Linked DNA regions of Homo sapiens: regions 2, 3 and 4 are each linked to region 1. The links are contacts of gene promoters, found by promoter capture Hi-C in human tissues and cell types (Jung and others, 2019). All regions are on one chromosome and are shown on one strand. Each heading gives the region's core, a stretch centred on a gene start or on the middle of the fragment in contact. The rest is flanking DNA. Distances are from core to core; before and after follow the strand shown.

Evidence for each region. The method cuts DNA at HindIII sites, captures the fragments that hold promoters and counts their contacts. A contact is called where the count stands out against the background at its distance.
Region 2: a fragment that was not itself captured here is called in contact with the fragment with the promoter of TPM1 in region 1 in 2 of the 25 tissues and cell types used here (IMR-90 fibroblasts and mesenchymal stem cells).
Region 3: a contact is called between a fragment that was not itself captured here and the fragment with the promoter of TPM1 in region 1, in 1 of the 25 tissues and cell types used here (mesenchymal stem cells).
Region 4: a contact is called between a fragment that was not itself captured here and the fragment with the promoter of TPM1 in region 1, in 1 of the 25 tissues and cell types used here (IMR-90 fibroblasts).

What each region holds. Positions count from the first base shown.
Region 1 is chr15:63,037,197-63,043,996 of GRCh38, forward strand. TPM1 (tropomyosin 1) reads left to right here and starts at 5,551. Exons shown (of 10, transcript NM_001018005.2): 1 at 5,551-5,747. The coding sequence starts at 5,634. RefSeq lists enhancers at 4,495-5,409, 6,323-6,800. The HindIII fragment of the contact is 3,976 bases long and covers 2,638-6,613 here.
Region 2 is chr15:62,407,699-62,414,566 of GRCh38, forward strand. The region is part of intron 1 of TLN2 (talin 2); the gene reads left to right. Among named protein-coding and RNA genes, the nearest start is that of TLN2, 21 kb to the left of the region's middle. The HindIII fragment of the contact is 3,928 bases long and covers 3,005-6,868 here.
Region 3 is chr15:62,351,106-62,357,826 of GRCh38, forward strand. No RefSeq gene overlaps it. Among named protein-coding and RNA genes, the nearest start is that of MIR6085, 11 kb to the left of the region's middle. RefSeq lists an enhancer at 1-283. The HindIII fragment of the contact is 5,273 bases long and covers 1-5,122 here.
Region 4 is chr15:62,434,630-62,441,400 of GRCh38, forward strand. All of the region lies in intron 1 of TLN2 (talin 2), which reads left to right. Among named protein-coding and RNA genes, the nearest start is that of TLN2, 47 kb to the left of the region's middle. RefSeq lists a silencer at 4,941-5,235. The HindIII fragment of the contact is 4,060 bases long and covers 1,415-5,474 here.

The DNA.
Region 1 (6,800 bases), core at 4,301-6,800:
CAGTGAGCGGAGATAGTGCCACTGCACTCCCGCCTAGGCAACAGAGCAAGACGCCGTCTCAAAAATAATAATAATAAAAATAACATAAAATAAATATGAAATCAAACTGAACCTAAAAACAGGCTGGGAATGAATGAATGAAAAGGGCATTGTTACTGAGAGTTCAGATATCTGCATTTTTGTTCCTGCACTGCCACCTCCCAGCTGAGTGGTCTTGAACCAGTTACTGCCCTTGGTGTGTGTGGTTTTGTTTTGGTTTAGGTTTTTTTTCTTTTCAAGACAGGATCTCATTCTGTCACCCAGGCTAGAGTACAGTGGCACACTCACTGCAACCTCAAACTCCTGGGTTCAAGCGATCCTCCTGCCTCAGGCTGCCGAGTAGCTGGGACCGCAGGTGTGAATTACCATGCCCCGCTAATTTTTAAAGTTTTTTGGAGAGATGGGGGGAAGCTCTACAAATTTGCCCAGGCTGGTTTTGACCTCCTGGCTTCAAGTGATCCTCCTGCTTTGGCCTCCCAAAGTGCTGGGATTACAAGCATGAGCCACTGTGCTCGGCCTGGTTTTCTCATGTACAGAGTGAAAATCAGAGAACTCATCCTGATGCTGTCATAAGAGGTTGGGAGGAGGAGGTAATGAACTTGAAAGTGCTTTATAAACTATACAAACATGAAGGAATATCGCCTTTCTTAAGACAGCTAAATCTGCCACACTTGGAGCTTGATTAAATCTACACTGAGTTGCTACTGTTGAGAGACAGACAATAAGAGGTAAGGCAGGAAAACTCCTATGCCTTTTTTTTTTTGTACTGGGACAATCATTTTGCCCATGCAAACATTCCAGGTAATAAGCGTGCTCAAGGGCCTCTCCAAAGAATCAGGACCAGCTGTGTGTTACTAAACAATAAAGGCAGGCACGCCTTGAAAATGGCCTAAAGACCTTTCTCAGAGATCCAAACCAGCCCCACCCCCCGCCCCCAGGAAGCATAGCATATTTTCTGTGAGGCCTTGATGGTAGCATCACAAACCCTTGGGAAACACAACTCCCAGTGTTTGAGGAGAGCATGCCGTATCTTGTTCCAGGGACACTGAGTCGTGAGCATAAAACGCTGCATTCCAAAAGAGACGAAGAAGCAGTCGTCTCTCCATTTAATTATAGATTCTTCACTTTCCCTTAATTGCTTCAGTCAGCACTGTTGACTCTGGGGGAGTCACAGTACACCGGCAGGGCTATTGCTGTTAAACAAGGGGTGACTATCAGGTAATGAGGTTTTCATTTTGTTTTTTCAAACAAACAAACCCTGATGTACATATTCAAGTGGGCATTCCTGTTAAAGGTGTCACATTGGGAAATGATGCTCATGTTGACTCTCCTTTGTAACCAAATATTGATAAATGTAGTATGACACATACAAGTGTTTTATGGAAGGAAAAAGGCAGCATATTTAATATTAAAGCTTTCCTAGAAAACCCGAGATATGTGATCCTCATAACTATAGAGGGCCCCAGGTGACCAACTGAGCTGATGGTCATGCCATGGGAAATACATATTAAATGACTCCCAAAGAGAGGGTTCTCCCTGCATCATACATAGACACTTTTCCTACAGAAAAAGATCCATGTCTTTTGTCTGCTTCCCTGGATCCCATAAGCCCTAAATGTCTTGCACACAAAAGGTGTCCAATAAATATTTGGAGACATTTGTCTTACCCTATCACAATACTTATATTCATTCTTCATGAAATAAGACACAGAGCCCATATTTTGAATGGAAACAAGATCTTTTGAACCTAGATTTGTTACTTTACCTTCCCAGACTTTCTTGTAAGTCAGTAAGAAAGCTGGACTTGTCAGTCATAAAAAAAATTGTTCAACAAACATTCATTGAGAAATGACTGAATACCAGGCACTGGAGAAATCTGGAAATTCCAAGCATGTTCGTGGTGATCACGTAGAGCCTCTAGGCCAAGAATGTTGAATGTTGTGCAGGCTGTCATGCCACCATGATTTGGTAAGCTTTTTACTTTCAAGGAATATAGACTCGCTTATGTAACCTCAAGAAATACAGGGGGTTATTATAAGGACCCCTGGAACTGAAATTTGGTCATATTCTCCCAATCTCTTTCTCTAAATGGTGCTTCTGTTTATCTTGATATGCCTGCTTCATTCTTTCTCTATAATCACTTCTCTGCTTTTTCATAACTTAGCTGATGCATGCCTATTGTGCTGTATTAGTCAGGAGAAGCTAGTTATGCTTCAGTAACAAACAACCCCCAATCTCAGTGGCCTAAAATAACAAAGATTTATATCTTATTCTCACTACATGTCCACCAAGGGTTAGTTGGGGGGAAAGAGGGAGCCACTTGAAAACCCACAATGACAGAGCAGCCACAGTCTTGAAAAATGAACATGGTTAGTCGTGAGCTCTTTAAGTATCCACCAGAAGTCATTTCTGCTCACGTTTCCTTGGCCAAAGCAAGTCAAATGGCCACAGCCAACTTAATTGGGTGGGATGTACAATGCTACCACGACATTGACTGGGGAGAAAACCTAAAAAATTGTGAATAACCTTAATCACTTTTACACGTGGCATTTCCAGCCCGACACTGCAATCCCTTTTTGTTTCAGCAGCCACGGCTAGTGATTCCCATTTTTCACGTTCCTTAATTCAAACTGCAATGAAAGAAGCTGAGTGGCCCAGTTCATCATTGCCTGACAAGCCACAACGCCAAGTCCCTGGTTAGTATTTAGATCCATCCTTGAGTTGTGGCCAATCAGCCAGAGAACAGGGATACACACTACATACAGCCTGTGACTGTCCAGCCTACCTCTGGAGAGGACCAGGAGACCTGTTCACTACAGAAGAATGTGTTATTTAAGTCATGACGTTTTGCTTGTCCTAGCTTTGTCTTAGCCCTTGGTGACAAAAAGGTCATGGGTGGTATAGCCCATGAAGCTGACTTGGGCCTGACACATGGCAGAATCTCAACATGGGTTAAAAGAAATGATTGAATTCAGGACCTGCTATGTTAACCCATCAGTCTAGAGATCAATGATGTGGTACTAAGGGATTTTAAAAGTTAGCGTTGTATAGCTCCATTTCCATACTTTGACACCATAGGCTTCGACCTCTGAATATAGGCCCTAGGTGAGGGAGTCTGGGAGAGGAAGAGGTGAAAAGAAGAGACATCGATGGCTTTAAACTACACAATAAGGTCTGAATGTCTGAATCTGGAATTCAAGGCCCTTTATCATACAGCCCCAAGCTTCCTTTCCAGTCTCATGCCCCCATTCACCCCCAAAATCCTACTGTCCAACCACCACCAAACATTCCTTTTTCTTTCCTTGGCGCATACAACGGCCCTCCTCTCTAGCTAACTGCTACCCTTCCTTTAAAATCAGTTTAAAAGCCATCACCTTTTCAGAGAATTTTTTCCCATCTGCTCTGACCTAGTCATTTCTATTTCTTCCTCGTGTGAATTCTTAACACCTTTCTCATGCCAAACACCTGGAGGACATAGACCTGTGCTACTCATTCTTTGGATTCCAGAGCCTAGTACCTGCCTAGTATATAGCAGGTACTCAACAACCGTGTGTTTAATAAATTGCTTGTAGCATGATTTCATTTAAGGAAACTTTAATGAGTCCCTCGGCTACATATGGCACAGTAAGAAAAGAAAAGTCAGTAACATGTGGTCCCGCAAGGAGTTTCTCTAGTTCAGTTGCCTCTTTTTATAAGTGAGAAAAAAGGCTTAGAGAGATTGTAACATGGCTAAGGTCACACTGCAAGGAAGTGACCAGGCCAGGTCTGGATCCCTGGAACTGACTCCTAACTCCCTATTCTTGCCTCCTCTGCTGAGCTCCAACCTGGGGAGTCAGCTCCCTGGAGTCCACGCATCTGGATATCGTCCACATGCCTGGAACTTTGTCACTGTTCCGGTGGCTGGGTTGACACACCGTGATTAAAGGGCTCTGGTCAATTTCTGTGCCACGCAGCCCCTATGCTAATGGTCAGATCTAATGTTCTGACCATTAGGTCAGTGTATCTTTTCCCTCCTGGGCAGTTAGGTTAGTGGAAGAAACCCGATAAAATCTTGGAGAGGAATTTGATCATTCTCTGAAGGACTTACAAGTTGTTTGGCCTGCCTAATCTGCTCAGATACCGTCCGGGGAATATTTGGTAACCATGCAGTACAGACTGTGAATTATTCTGTGGGGACTATTAACAAGACCCTCACCAACCCTGCCTCAGCTGATCTCAGGGCTTGGGGGCAGCCCCCTCTCCTCCCCTCCCACTGAAGCTCTGAAAAAAAGCAGCCTTTCCCCCTTGGGAGATGGGAGGAGTAGTTAAAAATAAGAAGTGTTGGGGGAAATCCTCCTCCTTCCAAGCACAGCTCACACGGCAGAGCCTCCTCAGAGTTGCGGCTGCGGATGCAATGACTTAGCCAGGTTAACGCCGATCCCATGTTTTCCGAAACCTGGCACCTAAGCATCTAACATGGAAGGCCGACTCCCTAAAATCAGTGCAAGAAAAATGATAACAAGTTATATCTGGAGGGACCTCGGGGATTATCTACCCGCTGGATTTAAAGTTGAGGAAGCCGCGGGCAGCAAACAAGGTCTCACAGTTGCTGGTGGCAGAGTAGAGACCACAGACCAAATTGCCTGAGTCTAAACTCAATGTTCTTTCCCCTTAGACTGCCACCCGCACACACACGCACACATGCACACCTTTTTGGAGGCACTGCACAGCAAGCACAGAAGTACGCCACTGAGTCCTGTGTCCCTAAAGTATTTGACTGTCCCTCCGCTGGGGGAAAGGGCAGGCAGAAAACAAGACTCCGTGTGCTGTCGCTGTGCCGCCCCCTGCCTCTCTGACCCGCGCCCGCAGAGAAAGTCTCAAGAGCCGCCCCAGGCTTTCTCCCACGTTCTCCCTTTCTCTGCTGCAGTTGAGTTTCCAGAGCGTGAGCGCGCAGGATGACACCTGGCTGGCTGAGAGCTGCCGGGGAGGCGCTGGCGGGTGCCGAGAGCGCACTGACCCTGACGCGGGGTGCAGCACGGCTGGGAAGCCCCCGGGCCTTTGGCTAAGCGCGCCGGGGGACGGCACAGGGGGGCGACGCGCATCCACCACCTGGTCCGCGCTCTCCCGGCCTCCGGCAGCTCAGGGCGGGCTCGGTTGGGGACCCTAATGGCTGGGTGCCGGCCCTGGGAGAAGGGCACGCGGAGGGCGGAGGGTTGCGCCTCGGCCCCGGCTCGGCCCCAACGCCCTCTCCCTGGCGCGCAGGTTTAGAAACAGGGCGGCCTCTCCGGCCGCCGCCTCGGCGGCTCGGGTCCCCATATATAGTCATATCCACCGTCAACTGGGAGGCCGGCGGCCGGCAGCGAATGGGCGAGCGGCCCCCGCGGGAGGAGCGGGGAGGGGGCACGGGGCGGAGGGAGGAGAGGAGGAAGGGGGGCAGGAGAAAAAAGCTTTTCCAAAAAAGTATTGGCTGTCTTGAGGAATGCGGTCGCCCCCTTGGGAAAGTACATATCTGGGAGAAGCAGGCGGCTCCGCGCTCGCACTCCCGCTCCTCCGCCCGACCGCGCGCTCGCCCCGCCGCTCCTGCTGCAGCCCCAGGGCCCCTCGCCGCCGCCACCATGGACGCCATCAAGAAGAAGATGCAGATGCTGAAGCTCGACAAGGAGAACGCCTTGGATCGAGCTGAGCAGGCGGAGGCCGACAAGAAGGCGGCGGAAGACAGGAGCAAGCAGGTCTGCGCCTCCCCGGCCCTGCGCCCGCGCCCAGAGCGCCGGGACTCGAGCCTGGCACCCCCGGCTGGATCCCCACCCCGAGGACTCGGGGAGCCACCACCCTACCCCCACCACCACCCAGGGCGGCCAGGGCGCGCGTCTGGAAAGAAGGAAGGGAAACGCAAGAGCCAGGCTTAGTCTAACTTAGTCTGGTCTGAGGACGCTTATTTCCCTTCTCTGGTTCCCATGGCCCGCGAAATCAAGTCCTAGAGGCGCTTTATTCTCAGGACTGGGAATCAGTTTGGGGGAGGGAGGAGGACACCCGGTTCCTGGGGACGTTTGAAGGAAGGGCGAGGGATGGAGAAAGGGGGTCGAGTAACTCAAGTGTTAGAAGTTCGTTGACTTTTGACTGGGGAGAAAGGAACCTTAAACTTGGGGAGGAGAAGGGAGTCCTGGAGTTGTTACCTAAGAACAAAGATGGGGCGGAATGGAGGCTACAGCCCGAAAGCCAGGCCAGCAGTGGCGTTCTTCTGTGTCCCCAAGTAGTGGACTTGAGCCCGCTGAGACCTCGGCAGGAGTCTCGTCCCAGGGCAGGTGGGTGTGCGGGGTGAGCCGCGGAGCGGTTCCAGCTCGGGTAAAGAGGAAGTTACCTCGGGTCCTTTGCACTCCAACTCGGCGGCGCCCCGAGCCCGAGGGGCCCCAGCCAACCCGACGCCCGTGTGTTGTGTGTGTCTAACACCCGGTCCGTGCCGGCCGCCCGCGCCCGCCCGCCGCTGCCCCCAGCTCGAGGAGGACATCGCGGCCAAGGAGAAGTTGCTGCGGGTGTCGGAGGACGAGCGGGACCGGGTGCTGGAGGAGCTGCACAAGGCGGAGGACAGCCTCCTGGCCGCCGAAGAGGCCGCCGCCAAGGTACCCGGGGCGCGCGGCACGGCGTGGCGCACGAATGGCTAACTCTTTCTCTTTCTCTCTCTCCCTCCCTGTCTTTCCCTCTGTCTCTCCCGCTGTCCCTGTCCTTCTGGTTCTGTGCACCCACACCCCTCCCCTTCGGGATCACGCTGCCTGCTGCACCCCCCT
Region 2 (6,868 bases), core at 3,719-6,218, 630 kb before region 1:
TTGAATTCAGGAGTTCAAGACCAGCCTGGCCAACATGGAGAAACCCCATCTCTACTAAAATACAAAAATTAGCTGGTGTTGTGGCGGGCGCCTATAATCCCAGCTACCTCAGAGGCTGAGGCATGAGAATCGCTTGAACCCGGGAGGCAGAGGTTATGGTGAGCTAAGATCACACCACAATACTCCTGCCTGGACAACAGAGTGAGAGAGTGAGACTCTGTCTCAAAATAAATAAATAAATAAATAAATAAATAAATAAAAGAAAAAGGTGCCCACTTGAGTCGGGGGCATTTCAATCTGTAGAGCCCAAGGGGATTGTCTTCTTGTACAGTACCCCTGCCACCATAGTTGTGAGCAAGGTCTGAGCTCTTTGTCTGCCCACACCATGCTAATTGTCCCTCCGTTAGTGGAAAATAAATCTGGCTTGAACTTTCTGTGCTACACAGATGTACCTTGTACCACAGTGGAGTGGCGGGTGGGAGGTAAACTGAGAGGGTGTGGCCTTAGATAAGTCACTGTGTGCCTTATCAAAACAAGGCAAGAAAAAAATGTGATTATTAAGTATTTATTGTTATTGTTATAAAATGTGCTTGTATTAACTAAAGTGTGTTCGAGCATGCACAGTGCAGAAGAAACACCTGAATAAATTTTTTAAAACAGGGCTGCCTGGGCCCCAGCCCCAGAGATTTTCTTTTAGCAAGTCTAAGATGGGCCCCCAAAATTCTGAGCTGCTGGTCAGAGGACCACACTTAGAGCAAGCAGCCCAATATTAATGCAATATTGTCACTGTATAGTTCAGCTTTTGATACTACAATGACCGTCTCTCTGAATAATGAAACTATTTATAAGCTTTGGCCACTAGCCTGTAGATTCTAACCCATGTTCAGGACCAATATCCAAATTATTTCACCATATTAACTTTATTGTAGTGATTATATAGTAAAATACATGGTTTCTTAGCTAAGGGTTATGTTTCTTAGAGTGTAGTCTTTGGATCACCACCATCAGTATTACCTGTGATTAAGGTTAAGTATTGTAACTGCCCAATACCTGGAGATTTTAATTTGGTAGTCCAAATTAATTGTATGGTCCAAGAATTTGTTGTTTTCTTTTCTTCTTCTTCTTTTTCTTTTTTTTAATTTGTAGAGACTAGGTCTTGCTTTGTTGCCCAGGCTGTTCTTGAACTCCTGAGCTCAAACAATCCTCCTGCCTCGGCCTCCCAAAGTGCTGGGATTACAGGTGACAGCCAGCATGCCTGGCCCTTATTTTTACTTATTTATTTATTTATTTTTTGGGGGGTACAGGGTCTCACTCTGTCTCCCAGGCTGGAATGCAGTGGTGTGATCTCTGCTCACTGTAACCTCTGCCCTCCAGGTTCAAGCGACTCTCCTGCTTCAGCCTCCTAAGTAGCTGGGACCACAGGTGGCACCACCATGACTGACTGTTGGGGATTTTTTTTTGTAGAGACTGGCCATGTCGCTTATGGCCAGTCTCTAACTCCTGAGCTCAAGCCTTCCGCCTGCCTCAGCCTCCCAAAGAGCTGGGATTACAGGTGTCAGCCACTGTGCCTTGTAGTTTTTATAATCAAAATATCCTTAGGTATACTGAAGTTTAAATGTCACTGAACTAGGGTTTGGAAATCAGTCCTGCTTTTTACCAGAAGCCAGTCACACAGTAGGGTTATAAATACTGTTAGATTGTTTATATTGGCATTTGTTTCCATTTTTTTCTGGCTGTTGCAGGGTCTCATTCTGCAACAGAGATGTAATCTTAATAGATTGTTAGCTTTCTATTTGAATAACCATTCCCCTTCTCATTTTTTATAAAAGCTCATGCAATTCATTTTAAGATAGCCTTTTAAAAAGTTACATTCATTGTCAAAGTAAATTCCTTTGGAGCATTAATAGTATGTGAAATATATTTTAGATTTTTGGAGTTAATTCAAGGAGGCTTTGTGGTTTTAAACTGCACAGGTAGTTAGGAATGACCATGGTTGAAATATATGTATATTCTTGGACTCTGCATGCATATTTCAAAAATTGGTAAATGCTTTCATATGGGAGGGGGAGGGTTGGGAGGAGATACTTTATTAATAGAAGAGATTCAGTTTTCTTGACCAGTGTAATAGATCTTGGTATTCTAAGTTCTGTGCTTTGCAGATGTTTCCACAAATGAATTTTTTCCCCCTAAAGACAAGATTTTTAGTTCTATGTTCTTCCTTCTGGGAAAATGAGGAACCTTTATTTTTAGAAATGGGAGCTAGGTCCGGGTGCAGTGGCTCACGCCTGTGATCCCAGTACTTTGGGAGGCCGAGGCGGGTGGATCACGAGGTCAGGAGTTCAAGACCAGCCTGACCAACATGGTAAAACCCCGTCTCTACTAAAAATACAAAAATTAGCCGGGCGTGGTGGTGTGCGCCTGTAATCCCAGCTACTCAGGAGGCTGAGGCGGGAGAATTGCTTGAACCCGGGAGACGGAGGTTGCACTGAGCTGAGATCACGCCATTGCACTCCACCTTGGGTGACAGAGCGAGACTCCATCTCAAAAAGAAAAAAAGAAAAAAAAAAGGGAGCTAAAGTTAATTTTGTGTCTTTGGGTCATATATACTCACATCATTTTATATAATGTATTCTTGAAAAGTTAGAGATAAATAAAGTAAAAACTGCAGCAAGATTTACAGGCATTTGTCAAAATTTATAGAACTGTATCCCTAAAAAGGATGAATTTTACTTTACGTAATTATACTTTAATAAACCTGATTTTAAAAAAAAGGTATCAGAGGAACTTGTCACTTTAGCCATGCTTTTTGTGAATTAGTTTGCAAAGTAAAGATTCCTTTTGTGAAGCATGTATTCCCTCAAGGACCCTCTCTGTTTCATACTTGTTTGAAAACTGTTCTTTGTGCATTCTCTCCGTTAGTGCTTAGTGGGCTGGGTGGAGTGGAATTGGTGCAGGGCTACTGAGGGATGGGCGCAGCCTCTTATCCATTACTCTTAGTCATTTCTTTCTTAGAACCACATCTGGCACATGTGGGAGTTCACAGAGGTTTGGGGGATGAATTAAACCATCAGATTGATGAAGAAGCCGAGGTGCAGAGAGCGAAGGGGCTTGTTCAAGTACGGTGATAAGGTAGCGTAAGTGGGAGAAGAGTCCTTTGGTCTTCTGACTCCTAGGCCAGTGCCCTTCCACTGTGCATTCTCCAACGCATAGTGTATCTTGTAAATTCGTGTTTTATAGTTTGGGAGTCTTTTAAACCAGGGTACATCCATGTGCTTGCTGTGGTTGTGGAAGCAGCCTATTCTTGTAGAAGAGCCCTGGCTTTGGAGTCATTCATCAGTTTGGCACATCTTTTTCTGGGTGTCTACCAAGTGCATGGTGGATACAGCCTGAAACAAAACAGACCTGAGCCCTGCCCTCATGGATAGCACAGTCTGGAAGCGTATGTGTGGACCGAGGCATTAAAACAAACCAAAGAGGGATGAATGCTGCAAAGGTCACAAACATGCTGATGTGGGAACCCACCGCATAGTGGCCATAATTTAGTGTGACCTTGGACAAGTCACCTAACCACTGTAAGCCTTAGTGTCCTCATGAGTAAAACGTGTATATCATCCCCAAGTAATGAAGTTATTGCAAGGATTTAGTAGATGATGGATGTAAAACAGATAGTTCATGCTCCTGGGCACATGGTAATTAGATGTTATTCCTCCTTAGAGAGTGTGAGTAATGGATGTGTGTGTGTGTGTGTGTGTGTGTGTGTGTGTGTGTGTGTGTGTGTTTTGTTCCCATGCTGCATTGGCCCTTGTAGGCAACCTCAGGATAGAAGTTTGATATATTTTTTTTTCTTTTGGGTCATCTTAACAATGGGGAGATATATTGGAGGGCTCTGCAGGGTTTTGCCCATTGAGGTTGAGGTTGGAGCAGAGCTTTCTAGTCAGGGAGCTGAATTATGCTAACAGGTGAGCTGAGATAGTGAATGATGCCTTTAGTCTTCTCTCCATTCCTCTGGGGCTGCCAGGACTTAGGCCCTACTGACATGGTAATTTTTCAAGTACGCCAGAACTTGGAAAAGTTTGGGAGATTATTCATCTCTCAAAATGGGGGCCCTAGAAGCAGGGGCTAGGCTGTTAGATTTTAAGTTAACTAAAGAGAAAAATGGAAAGGAGACAAGGGGACCCACGGGTTGTGTGGGAACTTTAGAAGAGGGATGTGGATGAACTAGTTCAGGGTTTCCCAGACTTCTCTGATGATAAGATTCATCTGAGTACTAACTCAAAGTAAATTTACACAGCTCGCTGGGCATGCTCTGGCGTATTTAACAGTTAGCCCATGTAATTCTTACCAGGGACTTTTGGGAAACACTGGGTTAGATCATAAGTCTCTTTGTCCCTGCGATTTAAAATCGGTCTGTGGACCAGCAATTTCAGCATCACCTGGAAACTTGTTGGAAATGCAGAATCTTAAGTTAATCCAGACCTACGGACTTAGAATCTTCATGTTAATCAGATCCCGAGGTGAACTTGCATGCATACTAAATTTGGGGAAAGGCTTGCCTAGAGGACTGGGACACCTGTCAACATTTGAAACCAGTAAGGTGGTGGTAACAAGGGCTGATAACCTTTTTGAGGAATTGGAAGAGACGGAGGTCTGGGATTTGAACTCAAGTTTCTGGCTCCAAATTGAGTGCTCTACTCAAATCCTCTTGAACCTGTGGTCTTTCATCATCTCTGATGGCAGGGTGCTAGCTGTCCTTCTGTTAATGTTGACCCTGGAAGAATGATGCCCAGGGAGACAGGAGCATGTGTTTTTTGGCACGACTGGGACCACCCAAATGTGTCACAATTCTTGGCATCCATTAACTCTGTCAGGACACCTTCTTCCTGTCCCTGGGTAAAGACTTACATTCAAATGTAAGAGTCAGCAACTTTGAGTTCTTGAAGACCTGTGGAGGTTTACATCATACCAGCAGTGGGTCCTTGAAAAAGTTGTTATATTTTTGTCCAAGGGCAGGATCAGATGGAGTACAGTTTTTCTAATGCTCCCCTAGACTCTTAAATCCTCCTTCTCTAAGCACAATGTCAGAGGAAATACCCTGCGAGGCACTTGCCAAATGGCTTGAAATAAGCGTCCGTGCACATTTCTGAAAAGACAATTAGAAGCTTATTTGAGGAACTAAAGGCCTGCTGTGCTAGACATTAGTTGGAGAGAACTCAGTGCCAATTTGGGAAACTCTCCTGGGGGCTCTTTCTCATCACAGCCCCTGTTTGGAGAAGCTGAACTAGAGAAGTGGAGAGACTGCAAGGCTTGGGAGAGTGGAGGATAGGGAGGAGGGGAAGAGGGAGCGATGTGCCCTCGAGAAAAATGAACAATGCCAATGTCTCCTCCAGGGAGAATTGAAATCTTTGCAGGTAAAATCAAGTGGAAAAGGGAAAGTCATTATAAGTTCATCAACACTTGAATTGTGTTGCTAGTTAGCACTGGTATCCTGGCCTTGGAAGACTCTTTAGCAAACTGAGCCCTCATGAGGTTAGTGCCCTGCCCAAGGTGACACATGGGGTTAGATATAAAGCCTGATCAGAATCCAGGGATCTTATTTAGTCCATGCACTGCCCCTTGTGCTCTGCTGCCTTGGAAGATGCTAAGAATGTAAAATTACAATGATTGGATCCAGATGTGCTGGCCCTGCCCCCACCCCCAAGCTAACATAGTGAGTTTTATTGCTAGTCCATCTGAAGTGTACAAGGCATAAAGATCAGGAAAGAAAAATCTCAAGCCAGTAAATATCCCTATTGTTGGGGATGCTATACCCGGCTGTTTCTCTTGGCTTGACGCGCCAGATAGAGCGACCTACGGAACACAGAACAGGGAAAACCTCTGCACTGTAAGTGGCAGGATGTTTGTGTTCAAAGTCATGGCGTGAATTTATATGCTATTGCCAAGGTCTGCAGGGACAGGTGCACATTAAGTTTTTAAAATTAAATTGTAGAAAGGCTGAAACTTTACAGCGATTCTTGTAGCATGAGTAGGGGATCTGAAAGGGCTCCAGTGCAGAGGCATGGGGTGGATAGAGGCATTTTCTGTGATGAAACACCAGATTGCTTGTGCAGAAAATCTGAAGCCTTTGACATTTATGTTGCACAGTTCAGCAATAGATTACACATTGTCTTGGTTAAAAATGGTTTAATGTGTATGCCTATTTTATTTTTGTCCCCTAGATTGAGTTTTGAAGGCAGGAACCAAGCCCTTTATTTATCTGGCAGTCTGAGGGTATGGTAAATGATTGGAGCCATCTGGCTGCAGTGGTCAAGGGAGATTGCCTTGGGAAGTTGAACTTGAGCTAGAGGCCAAGTGCACTGAATTTTGGTGTCTTTCCATGTGGTTTTGGCTGTGGCAGCTGGGCCATTACAACTTCATAATCACATGTCATATTGGTTGAACTCAGTGAAGTGTTAGCAAAAAAAAAAACTATATATATATATATATATATATATATAATTTGAGAAATTAAATCCTTTTAGATGATAGTAGGAACAAGTAAGTGGTGCTTGAGGTTTAATTTGATTTGAGAATGTGGGGGAGGAGAGTGAGCCTATGCTTTGATTTCAGTGGTAGAGCACTGGTGTTCCAAGGGGATTGTGTTTGAGAACCAGTGGGCTTAATCTTGCCACTGAATCCAGTAAGAAGCTAGTTTGTCCTTCAAGTAGAGGCTGAGGTGCTGTGTTCAGCAGGCTCCTCAAAGTGTAGTCCAGGACCAGTGGCAGCAGCAGTATCACCTGGGAACTTACTACAAATGCAAATTCTCCAACCTCACCCCCAAACTACTGAACCATACGCTCTGGGCTGGGGCTCAGGAACCGTTGTTTTAACA
Region 3 (6,721 bases), core at 1,236-3,735, 690 kb before region 1:
AGGCCGGACACGATGGCTCACGCCTGTAATCCCAGCACTTTGGGAGGCCAAGGCAGGCAGATCACCTGAGGTCAGGAGTTCGAGACCAGTCTAGCCAACATGGTGAAACTCCGTCTCTACTAAAAATACAAAAATTAGCCGGGCGTGGTGGCGGGTGCCTGTAAGCCCAGCTACTTGGGAGGCTGAGGCAGGAGAATCGCTTGAACCTGGAAGGCGGAGGTCTCAGTGAGCTGAGATCATACCACTTCACTCCAGCCTGGACCACAGAGTGAGACTCCGTCTGGAAAAAATAAAAGGCTGACAGAGAAACAAATGGGAAAACACAGGGGAAGAAAGCCTATTGAGTAAGAGCCACAGAGAAAATAAGAGTAGAAACGGGAGTGAGGGTAAAGAAAAGGGAGATGTGAGCAGATACCGGGAAAAGGAGAAGAGGGCAAGCCCGCTTTAGAAAGAGCAAGAAAGCTGGTCAGTCAGGGTTCACCGTCTCAGCTTCTGAACCACATGGCCTGTCCGTGGGCTCTCTGACCTGGCAGGGCCTTCTTTGGGGCCAGGCAGGCTGGAAGCAGGCCTGTGGTCTTCCTCAGAAGGTGAAAGCTTTAGACATGGGGACAAGAAGACAAGGAGAGGAAGCCATTGGAGCAGCAGAGAAGGGGGTGGAGGAAGTGATCCTCCCTCATGATGTGGAACACGCAGTGGACAATGGGGATAACAGCACCCACTCTAAGGTTATTGAGAATAAAACAAGACAAGGCCTGTGCAGTAGCTACCTCAGCAGCATCCCCCAAGGACTGTTCTGAGAATGGTGATGACAGCCTGCACCATCCAGGGGGTCATGGGGACAGTATGGAGTTGATCCCAGAAGCATATAAGAGGCAGTCAAGACTGACTAGCTGTAGAAAGAAGAGCAGAAAGAGGCCAGGGGTAGTGGCTCATGCCTGTAATCCCAGCACTTTGGGAGGCCGAGGTGGGTGAATCACCTGAGGTCAGGAGTTCGAGACCAGCCTGGCCAACATAGTGAAACCTTGTCTCTACTAAAAATACAAAAATTTGCCAGGTATGGTGACACATACCTATAATCCCAGCTATTCAGGAGGCTGAGGCAAGAGAATCACTTGAACTCAGGAGGTGGAGGTTGCAATGAGCCAAGACTGCACTCCAGCCTGGGTGACAGAGCAAGACTCCATCTCAAAAAAAAAAAAAAAAAGAAAGAAAAGAGAGAAAGAAGAGCAGAAGGAAGACCCAAAGTCTGTTCCTGGATTTCTGTTTTGGGTAACTAGTGGGTGATCCTGACAGGGAATAAAGGAAATGTGGATTCTGGGGAGAAAATGAGTTGTTTTGTATTATTAACATTTATATCTGGGCAGAAAACTATAACGGGCCAATAAACATGAACATGTGCTCCTCCTCACCAGTAACTAAAGAATGAAAATGAAAACAAAGTCCTTATGTATCGGAATGGGATACAAAATTGAAAATATCCAGTAATGGCAAGGATACAACTGGCATTCTCATACATAGTTGATGGAAGTATAATGTAGAAAACCATTTTGGGGGACAATTTGGAAAGATTTATCTAAAATGTTAATTGTGCTGTCTGTTTGACCGCATCATTCCCCTTCAAGGAATTTATTCTAGAGCTTCCAAAGTTAAAAGCACAAGGCTATTCCCTGAAGCTTGTTTGTATTAGCAAGAACACCCCAATTCCTCCACGATCCAACCATGTGATCTTGGGCAAATTACTTCCCCTGCCTGTGCGTCAGTTTCCCCACTTGTAAAATTGGCACTCATACACACACACACACACACACACACACACACAGAACTAGCACTCGGATCATTCATTTGTTGGGATTAAATGAGAAAATGCAAGGCAAGCACTTAGCACGGAGCCTGAGCTGTGATCAGTGCCCAGCTAAGGTTAGCATTCCTGCTCCTCTTGCTAGCAGCAGGGGTTCCTGATGGGGCATTAATGGAGGGACTCTTAGGGAGAAAGGGAATAGCTGGGCTTTGGGGGAGCACTGCTGCATGAAGCTGAAAGCCCAGAGCAGATAGGAGAGAAAATGAGTCTGCTTCTAAAGTGCCCACTTCAATCACAGCAGGGAAGGAAGTAGGAGATTCAGAGACAGTCTAGAGAGATGTGTAACAACGGTAGATGGAAAGGAGAGGTAGCTGAGATTCTTTGTTTTTTGATTGGGGAAATCTATAAACCGATGAGCCCCAAGGTTCCTGTGGAAAAGTCGGCAGCCGGGCACAGCCCCAGAGTCTCGGGGTGGATTATTTAGTGCTCCCTTGTTGCGGAAGTGCACCTGGGCTTCCAGAACAAGCAGGGGTGAGGAGTGAAGGTGGCAAAAGAATGGCTGATCTGGAGCTTTGTGGCCTCACAGTGCTGGGAACCCAGTTTAATGGTTCTAGGATGACCTTGGGAACACGGAGGGTCTTGGGCTCATCGTCAGGAATGGGTCTGTGGTGTCATGAACCTGACTTTGTTCTCAGCAGCCGTGTCACATGGGGTAATCCATTGTCTGTACTTGAATTGGGCACAGCTCTTTTGCATTCTATCTGCCCACTTTTCTTACTGTCACTGCTCATGGGCTCAGAACTGCAAAGATGCTCTGGGCCTGAGCATCTGCTCTCCCCAGCCACACCAAACCTCCATGCTGTGTAGGGGATCTAGAACAGAATTTAAGGAGTAAACAGACACCTTACAGTGCATTTTGTGTGCTTACAAATAGCTCTTGAAATTTCACCCTTAGAGAGTCCTATGTTTTGGGATTCCACAAGTATTCCTGACAAATATGTTAACTTTCATCAGTTCACATCTGTGTGCAAATACGTGTAATCCCATTGCTTTTCCCTTGGAGCCGTGATCTGTTTAGAAAGACAGTAAGAGGTTTCATGAGGTGGATGGAGAAGAAGAGGGCGACTTCAGAACTCATGCCATTCACCAGGGGAAGGCAGGACTCAGCTTCATGATGAGGTAGGGGTTCTCTGACTCTTTTCCTTTTTCTTTTTTTTTTTTTTGTTTTTGAGATGGAGTTTCACTCTTGTCGCCCAGGCTGAAGTGCAGTGGCTCCATCTCAGCTCACTGCAACTTCCGCCTCCTGGGTTCAAGTGATTCTCGTGCCTCAGCCTCCCAATTAGCTGAGATTATAGGCACCCGTCGGCTAATTTTTGCATTTTTAGTAGAGACGGGGTTTCACCATGTTGGCCAGGCTGGTCTCAAACTCCTGACTTCAGGTGATCTGCCCGCCCCAGCCTCCCAAAGTGCTGGTGGCGTGAGCCACCACGCCTGGCCCTCTGACTCTTGAAAAGCTCTGGAACCTGGAGCAGGAGAGAGAGTCTCCAAGATAAACCTAACCAGCTCTACAGGGTGGTGGAAGCCTCGTAGAATGCAGAGATCACACGGCTGGGTATGGAAGATCTGCATTCCTGTCTCAACTTTGCAACTTAATAGCTGCATGGACCCAATTCACCATAGCTAATCTCTCTTTCCTAGGTTATAAAGGAGTCGGTCATGCCTGCCCCAGCGTTTGTTTGAATGTGACTGTGCTTTGAAAAATATTCCCAATGCCACCTAAGCTCAAGCACATTTTTTATCATTACTATTGGAAACATTCCACGAGGGCTGGCCTCAGGCAGGTCAACGTGAAAGCATGCTCTGTACGGCTGAGGCCGGCTGGCCAGCAGCCGTGGCTGCAGGTCTCTCAGAGTCACTCACAGAAGCACTGAAATGACCCACTCATTTTTGTTGAGATCAAAACCTTAAACGGAACAAGTCTAATTGACAGCAAGCTTCCTTCAAGGAACTTCAATGAACAATTCAGGGCCTGCTGATGCTGGGATAAGATGGACAAAGAACTCTGGGTTTGTGTTTCTGCCCTGGGGAGTGCCTCTGCCAGGGCAGGCAGCTGAGGTCTGTGCCTAGGTCTCTCTATTAAACTTCTTTCTCTTGGGCTGGGCCACAGAGCCCTGATTCACCCCACAGCAGCTCCCAGTCCTACCAAGCAAATGTGGGATGGGGCCTGCACTGGGTGCAGAGTGAAGCAGGTGCCCCGTGGGCACAATGTTGCGAGTGCAATAAAGAAATTGTATAGGACTGCCCCTGCTCATGTGGATGGGAGGGAAGATGTAGGCACACAGTGGGGACAATGCCCACTAGCATTTCATAAGTGCAGTGGTGGTAGGGGTGGAAAGAGCCCTGACCACAAGTTAGACACGGGTTCAAGTCCTTATTCTGCCACCTTCAACCTTTCTCAGTCTCAGTTTCATTGTCTGTAAAAACAAGGGTGAGACTGCCAGAGCTCTCTGGCCCATGGTTGTTATGAAGAGTTCTTGGTATTACGACACACCGTACAAATAACCTGTCATTATTAATGATGCATTATCAGCATTAATGATACATTGCTAACGATTCAAGTACTGGAGGGACCACAGTAGAGGTGATGAGATTTGTGTGGCAATTTGATGATCATGAAGCCTATTGGTAAATGTTCTGAAGATTTTTAGATACAAACGATTGCATGGTTTTACTTCATATCATAGAAGTCAGAGCTAGGAAAAGACAGATTAATCATCTAATTCAAGCACCTTATTTTACAGACAAGCTGACAGAGGCAGAGCCTAGAGACTCCATTTGATTTCTCTTTGCTTTATGCCATGCTTCTGGCACAGACTAGATGCTCAATACTTGTGCTCAGTACTAGTTGTTGTTGTTGTTGTTGTTGTTTTAGAGACAGGGTTTCGCTCTGGCTGGAGTGCAGTGGCGCGATCTGGGCTCACTGCAACTTCCACCTCCCAGGTTCAAGCAGTTCTTGTGCCTCAGCCCCCCAAGTAGCTGGGATTGGAGGCACATGTCACCACACCCGGCTAATTTTTGTATTTTTAGTAGAGACAGGGTTTTACCACGTTGCCCAGACTGGTCTCGAACTCCTGGGTTCAGCCAATCGGCCCCCCTCGGCCTCCCAAAGCACGCTAGGATTACAGGCATGAGCAACTGCGCTTGGCCATTGTGCTCAGTACTTAATGAGACAGAACTGAATTAATTCCCCCACTTAAGTCTTAGTGAGTGCAGGGCTGGGACTCTATGACACTGAATGGTGAGATGGAAGGAGAAAACAATAGGACCTGGGATCGACTTGCACATGCACTTTTTCAACAGTCCTCAAAGCATCTGAAATACTTAAAGTGCCTTTTAGACAAAATAATTCAATTGCATTATTCTATAAGTAATAAATGATATATTTATGTCTATGTGTACATACATAGTTTTTGGCAAGGGGAGGTGATGAGGAAAGAGAAAAGTGATCGTAATTCCTGCTGGTTACACATCCTGAACTGTAAGTTTTCAGGTATTTTAGTTTACAGGTAGCTCCTTCTCTTGCTGTTGAAAAAAAAATCCTCAATTTAAAATTAAATAATTTCTTATACATATGATATACACATATAGGTACATACATATGCACATTTGTATGTATGTATCTATCTAGTCTATACATAATTTGCTTTTTTTTTTTTACTATAAAAAATTGTCCTTCCTAGCTGCATAATTAACATTCCGTTTTACTGCAGCTCTTCAATATCCTTTGCCTGGCTACTTCCTCAAATGACCTAGATCCGTTTTGATCTCTGGATAGGGATAGCATGCTGCCTAGGGAAGATTCTGTGTTAGAAATTATTCAGGAGGTCTGGCTGCTTGTCAAAAGTCTTCTGCTCTTTACTACGGAGCTTGGTTTTCTCCTTGTGGTTGGGGCAGGCAGGGAACACGTGAACTAGTGTTACTTTACAAACATGTATGTAATAGGGCTTATGATCTGATAGCAACTTTCTAAGTGCTTGCAAATATTAACATTTAATCCTCATAACGACCCCATGAGTTGCCATTATTAACCCTTATTTAATAGATGAGGCTAAATAATTTATTTAAATTCTGCAATAATTTAGAAACCCTTGGAAAAGCCCTCTGCCAAGACTAACACCACTCTTTTTTCTTTCTTTCTTTTTTCTTTTTGGTGTAGTTGGCAGGATTTAATACCACTCTTCAGTGAAAAATGAAACTTATCTGATGACTGTCTCTAGTAGTAGATACTCTTAACTTTGGTGGGGGATCATACACCCCTTGAAGAATCTGATGAGGCCAGGCGCAGCAGCTCACGTCTGTAATCCCAGCACTTTGGGAGGCTGAGGAGGATGGATCACCTGAGGTCAGGAGTTCAAGACCAACCCGGCCAATATGGTGAAACCCCATCTCTACTAAAAATACAGAAATTAGCCAGGCGTGGTGGCGGGCACCTGTAATCCCAGCTGCTTGGGAGGCTGAGGCAGGAGAATTGCTTGAACCTGGGAGGCAGAAGTTGCAGTGAGTCGAGATCATACCATTGTACTCCAGCCTGGAGGACAAAAGCAAAACTCTGTCTCAAAAAAAAAAAAAAAAAAAAAAAGGAATCTGATGAAAGCTTTAGATCCCTTACATGGAAAATACACCTTCGTTGACGAATTAATCTCTATCCCAAAGTCATCCGTGGAATCCAAGTTAAAAACAGTTATTATAGTAGAGGAATGCGTCAGCACCCTCTGGGAGGAATTACAGCTTCTCTCCATGTGAACTCCAAACCATAGAGAGGGAAAGATTCTGGAATCTGCCTTATGCTCTGTGTGCCACATGCCCCTTCTTTTTCAATTATTCTAGATTAGAAATCATCTGGACAAATGAATAGCCATAGTG
Region 4 (6,771 bases), core at 2,195-4,694, 600 kb before region 1:
ACAATGTATGAGAGTGCCTGTTCCCAGGAGTCCTCGCCAACACAGTGTATTGTCAGACTGCCTATATTTGCCAGTCCGCTAGGTAAAAATGGAATCTCATATCACTTATGATGTGTGATGTGAGGTTGAGCATTTTCTTTTTCCTTCAACTTTTAAGTTCAGGGGAACATGTGCAGGATATGCAGGTTTGTTACATAGGTAAATGTGTGCCATGGTGGTTTGCTGCACAGATCAACCCATCACCTAGGTATTAAGCCCAGCATCCATTAGCTATTCTTTCTGATGCTCTCCTTTCCACCCCCAGACCCCAAAGTGTGTTGTTTCCCGCTATGTGTCCATGTGTTCCCATCATTCAGCTCCCACTTATCAGTGAGAACATGCAGTGTTTGGTTTTTCTGTTTCTGCCTTAGTTTGCTGAGGATGATGACTTCCAGCTCCATCCATGTCCCTGCAAAGGACCAAGATCTTGTTCTTTTTTATGGCTGCATAGTATTCCATGGTGTATATGTTCCACATTTTCTTTATCCAGTCTATCATTGATGGGCATTTGGGTTGATTCCGTGTCTTTGCTATTGTGAATAGTGCTGCAGTGAACATACGCATGCATGTATCTTTATAGTAGAATGATTTATATTCCTTTGGGCATATACTCAATAATGGGATTGCTGGGTCAAATGGTATTTCTGCCTCCAGATCTTTGCAGAATTGCCACACTATCTTCCGCGATGGTTGAACTAATTTACACTACCACCAACAGTGTAAAACCATTCATTTTTCTCCGCAGAAGTTGACTGTCTTTATATGCTTAAGTCATTTTTATTTCTTTTTCTCTTCACTTTTTGTGTCTGCTGTCTATTTGTCTATTGTGTTGTTGTCTTTTTCTTATTGATTTGTATTTGATTTTTAAAATTATTTTTATTTATTTTTTTGAAATGGAGTTTTGCTCTTGTCACCCAGGCTGGAGTGCGATGGCGCGATCTTGGCTCACTGCAACTTCTGCCTCCCGGGTTCGAGCAACTCTCTTGCCTTAGCCTCCCAAGTAGCTGGGATTACAGGCGCCTACCACCTTGCCTGGCTAATTTTTGTATTTTTAGTAGAGATGGGGTTTTGCCATGTTGGCCTGGGTGGTCTTGAACTCCTGACCTCAGGTGATCCACCCTCCTTGGCCTCCCAAAATGCTAGGATTACAGGCGTGAGCCACCATGCCAGGCCTTGCTGTTTATGTATTATGGAAATTAGCATCTGTCACATGCTGTGAATACTTTCCCTCATTTTGTCTTTGTCACTAGCTTTTTCACTGCACAAAATTTGTTTTATGTAGTCAAATTTATTAATCTTTATGAATTTTGGATTTTGTATCATGCTCCATGATATCACTGTTGCCTGCCTTCTCCACTCTATCAGGATGTTTCTTGTGCCTACTTGTTTCAAACTTACGTCACAAACACATTTCTCCGTACTTCCCATTGCTTTCTGCATCACAGATGTCCTGCTAACCTCCTGTTTGACCTGCAGTTCTAATTCAGTTGTCTGCCTCATCATTTATTCAGTCATCCATTGATCTATTAGTTCATTGATTCCACGTTCCCTCTGAGTTCCAGGCACTGTGCTGTGTGTTAAGGATACAGTGGTGCGTATCTGTCCTATGCTCAGGAGCTCATGGAAAGCATAGCCAGGCTTCCACTTAGGTGGAATTCAAACTAACAGTCCTTGGCAACTGCAGGGAGTGCTGTGCGGGAGGACCTGGTGTTCTACCCTGGCCTGGGGTGAGGCAGAGGGCGATCAGGGAAGACTTCCTTGAGGGAATGTGTCCAACCCTATAACCTGAGTGGGAGTTTGCCAGCCTTTCGTGAGCAGGTGGCAGGATGTCAGTGGAGGAGGAGGAAGAGAGCTTTCCCTATTGAGAAAGCTGCCTAGGGAAAGCCTTGCAGTGGACAGGAGCTCAATGTGTTTGAGAAACCAGTGAAGGCCAGTGTGGCTGGAGCAGGCCTATGAGAGGAGGTCTCAAGGGACTTGGAGGAATCAGGTTGTTTGAATTGTTGAAGAGTTGTGTATGGCTTGGTTATTTGCTCCATGATTCTTTGATTTCTCTTTATTTATTTATTTTTTTTAGAGGCAGGGTCTCACTCTGTCACCCAGCCTGGAGTGCAGTAGCACAATCATAGCTCACTGCAGCCTCGAATTTCTGGATTCAAGGGCTCATCCTTCCTTGGCTTCTGAGTAGCTGGGACTACAAGCATGCATGCACCATCGTGCCTGGCTAATTTTTAATTTTGTTTTGTAGAGACAGGGACTAACTATTTTGCCCAGGATGGTCTCAGACTCCCAACCCCAAGTGATCCTCCCGCCTTGGCCTCCCAAAGTGTTGGGATTAAAGGCGTGAGCCACTGTGCCCAACCCAATTGTATGATTTCTCTTTTGTATACATCCTCTAATATTTCAGTAGAATTCCCAACACATTGGTTCAATGGACTTTTTAATCACTTTGGCTTTCTTTCATTTGCACAGTTTTGTTTCATCTCTCATTGATTATGAGCCACTTGAGGAAAAATACCATCAAGGGCTCTTAGGAGGGCGTCTCCCATGTTGGTGTACAGCCTGCTAGAGGTCTAGGAATCCTTTCTGAGGAGCACATTCATCAATAGCAGTGTATTAGGAGTTATGGGGGACACATACAAGTTTCATCTTTAGTTTTATCTCCTGGTGATTGGTGGTGGCTGCTGAGAGAGATCATGAGGCCAGGTCAGCTAGCTGGGACTATAAGTGCGAGCCACCACACCTGACCTTTTTTTTTTTGTAGTCACAGGATCTCACAATGCTGCCCAGGCTGGTCGTGAACTCCTGGCCCCAAGCAGTCCTTCTCCCTCTGCCTTGTGAAGATTATAGGTGTGAGACATGACACCTGGCTGAAAGGTGCTATTTCATCCTGCCCCTAGGTGTTTGTTGGTATAGGTACATTTGGGCAAGAGTCATAATCATAGTACTGTGTGTCATCTGGAGCCATTCTCCTTACTGACATGAGCTTCTAGTCCTAGCCCTTGCCTCAGGATACTGATGCCTCTGTTTTAGGTCAGGTTTACTTTTTTCCTCTGTAAAACGGTACTTTCAAAAAACACCATGGGGGTGTGTGTGTGTGTGTGTGTGTCTGTCTGTCTGTCTGCCAATTGGTGCAGTGGCCTCTGCATCCTGAGCTATATTTTCCCCTTGAAATGATCAGGGTTAATAGCATCTGCAAAAATGTATTGATTAACATAGTCATGAATCATTTATGCAACAACTGGCAATGCAACGGATTGATTTACAGACTTCTGGGTGTAGGAGGAGCACCACACATCTATGGACCATCCCCTTTCCCACTCTCGCCTCTGGTGGCAGCAGATGCACCCTGGTCCCCAAGAGCTCACTGGGGAAGGCAAGTGTTAGAGAGGATGTAGTGGGATGAGCTCAGGGCCAAACAGCATTTAGAGAACCATTACAAGCCAGCCTTGGTCAGGTAGTCAAACTTACTTCCAGGATGTCTGGCAAAGAGCCATCAGTTGCTGCTCTAGAAAGTCCACAACATGGCCTAATCCAGTAGTGGTTATTTAAGGGAAAACAGGGGCACTGGGGAGCAGCCAGATCACATCCTTGCTTTTTGCACATTTGGCAGAATGTTTAAAGGGAGTGGGGGCTATTACACTTCTCCCTTGTGGAAATATGCCATATCCTTGTTAAGTTGAAGACAGCCTTGTCTGTAAAGCTTAGTCTATCTGAAAGGTCCTTTCCTATCCAAATTCCAGTCAGCCTCATTCCCCTCTGTAGATGGAAGTGCACCTTTATCTGCTGAGATTTTATTCTAAACATGTCAACCTTTAAACATTAAGGAGTTGGTGATCTCCTTACCTCTGACCACTTGCAGCATTTATTTATCCCATACAGTTCGGTGCATAATCAGTCAGCCCATGTTGTTTACAGCGTAGCAAGTGTAAGAGGGAAGTAGGGAGGTAGGTGGGGCCAACATTCATGTTTAGGTTCAAGCCTGAGAATAAGGATGAGCACAAGGCTACTGAGACCATATAAAACCCCTGGAACAATGCCTTGTCCAGTAAATGGCACTCTGCAGAGTCAGTCCTCTTCACCCTGCCAAGTTCCCCTGTGTATGATATGCCTGGACCAGGACAGATGCTCAGGTGATCCCAAGGACCTAGGGAGGGAAGGGTCCCCTGGCTGAGCAGGCCTCAACAGTTGGATCCTTCTAGCAACAGCTGTGCTAGCACATGCTGGACTCGGATTAAAGTCATACTTCCTACTCTTAATTTCCTGTTTCTTTTGTACTTAGGATTTAACAATACGGTTGTGATTTAGATGTTGCTATCTGTAATAGGGCTTTTCTTTATTGTTTAAAAGCTAATTAGGGAAAAAGATAATTATATGTGGTTGTAAATATATGCATTATATGTTTATGCATATGTATACAGTATAATTAGGATCAAGGATAATAAATGCCTGACCCCTGTGCCATTACTTTTTCTCTTGCTGTCATGGCAGACATCGCTAGAAGATTATGACACTTTACTATGTACCCTAGGAAAGGCAGCCACTGCCAATCGATTGGAGTTGTCACATGTGATAAAACCTATTTGTCAGCCTAGATAAAACCTGTTAATAGATTGATCCTGGGATACAGAACATTTGACCTATCTGAGCCAGTTGTTTTTTTTTGAGATGGAGTCTTGCTCTGTTGCCCAGGCTGGAGTGCAGTGGCATGATCTCAGCTCACTGCACCCTCCGCCTCCTGGGTTCAAGTGATTATCCTGCCTCAGCCTCCCAAGTAGCTGGGACTACAGGTACCCACCACCACGCCCGGCTAATTTTTGTATTTTTAGTAGAGACAGGGTTTAGTCATGTTGGCCAGGCTGGTCTCGAGCTCCTGACCTCAGGTGATCTGCCCGCCTTGGCCTCCCAAAGTGCTTGGATTACAGGTGTGAGCCACCGTGCGCCTATCTTAGCCAGTTTTTATGGATTGGGTCAGCATGCCACCAGCCTCTGGAAGCCCCACAGTGAGAATAAATGTTTATTTCTGGTGAATGGCCAGTCAGTGACTCTCTGATTGTGAAAGCCTCTGACTAGTGTTAGACTTTTTCCCTTTGGGTATGCATTGTCCTTTGTGAACATTGAGACTTTTGGCCTTCATTCCAGTGAGCTTACAATTTCGAAAGTTGATTTGGCTTGCAGTCAGAGGCCATTAATTAGGGGCAAGAAGATGTTTGGTGTTTCTGTATTTCAGCTGTCTCTGGGTTAACCAGGGTCAGGGTTTTTCTAGGGACAGGAACTCCCTGTGCTGAAACAGGGGCGATGATACCATGCAAGGCAGGACTCCCAGGGCAGTGACTGGATTTTAGACAGGGCAGGATAACCTGGATGGTCTCTTCATTTACTTGGTTTAGGCACGTTTGTATTTACTCATTTTACAGATGTTCATGAAGAACCCGCCATGTGCTGGACACTGCTGTCTATCCCAGGTTCGTTTTATACCTTGGCTAACCTGTCTCCTCGATCTCGTGGTCTTCCTGTCTTTCAAGTCTCAGTTTGGGCCTCTCACGAACTTGATTCTTTCTGCCTCTCAGAGGGAGAATGTAACTTAATGTTAGCATTTAATTAATGCTGAGTTGAAACATTGATTTATGGTATGACTTACCTCTTTAAACTCCTTGCATTTAAGATTGAGATAGAGACCAAATTGTCCCTAATTCTTACATATCTTCCCCCTCTCCTTTCTTAAGTATATGGTACAGGTTTCATTCATTGGGAGAACAGCACTGTGAACTTGGCAAGAGCACGGTCCTGGCTGCAGATCGGTAAATACAACCAAATGGCAGAGCATTTTTTCTGTAATAGACTCCTAACCTAACGGGTGGGGTGGTGTTTGTGCCAAACGTCAGGGAGGACGGTGCTGACTGTCCTCACTGTCCTCCTCTGCTTTGGTGAATGTTTCCATGGCAACCTCTCTTGCTGTTCTCTTATACCCCTATCCCTGTCTTGCCCTTGGCTGTGGCCTCCTGGATCCCCGCAGCAGGAATTATTGACCGTCCTACTTTTACTTAGGATTGATACCTCCCTTCTAAAGTAGAGCTGTCATGGAAAGCAGCATGTGATACCAGTGTACATCTCTTATCCCTTCAAAAGTTTAGCTCCTTGAGGCAGTTTCAACCATTTTTTATATCCTCCCTGTGTGGTGCTCAGCAAATACTGAAAGCACGAATGACTGTGACAGCAAATACTGCTCTGAAGGAAGCAGTCTATAAAACAGGCTATTTCTATCCTGGAAAACGGCCTGTGGAAACAAAGCCAGGTTCTGGTTATAGTCACATTGGTATATAATACATAGCTGGTTCATCAGGTGCTTTATCCATCTCCTGCTCACTTCACATTCATGCTCTGGGACAGCGTTTCCTGATGAAGCTCATTTCCTAGTGAAAATCCATCGAACTAATGATGGGTCAGATGTGGGTAAGTGTAACGTGGTTCCAGTACAAGCAGAGATGGATTGGTCATGAAGATTAGCTTTAGGGCCCCTCACATGGAGGGATCCCTTCCAAGGCCCTGTGCTCATTTGTATTATTTACTTATCTAATATTTTTGAGACACCGTCTTGCTCTGTCACCCAGGCTGGAGTGCAGTGGCACAATCATAGCTCACTGCAGCCTCGAACTCCTGGGCTCACGTGATGTCTGTGCTTCAGCCTCCTGAGTAGCTGGGAGTACAGCCACATGCAACCATGCCTGGCTTTTT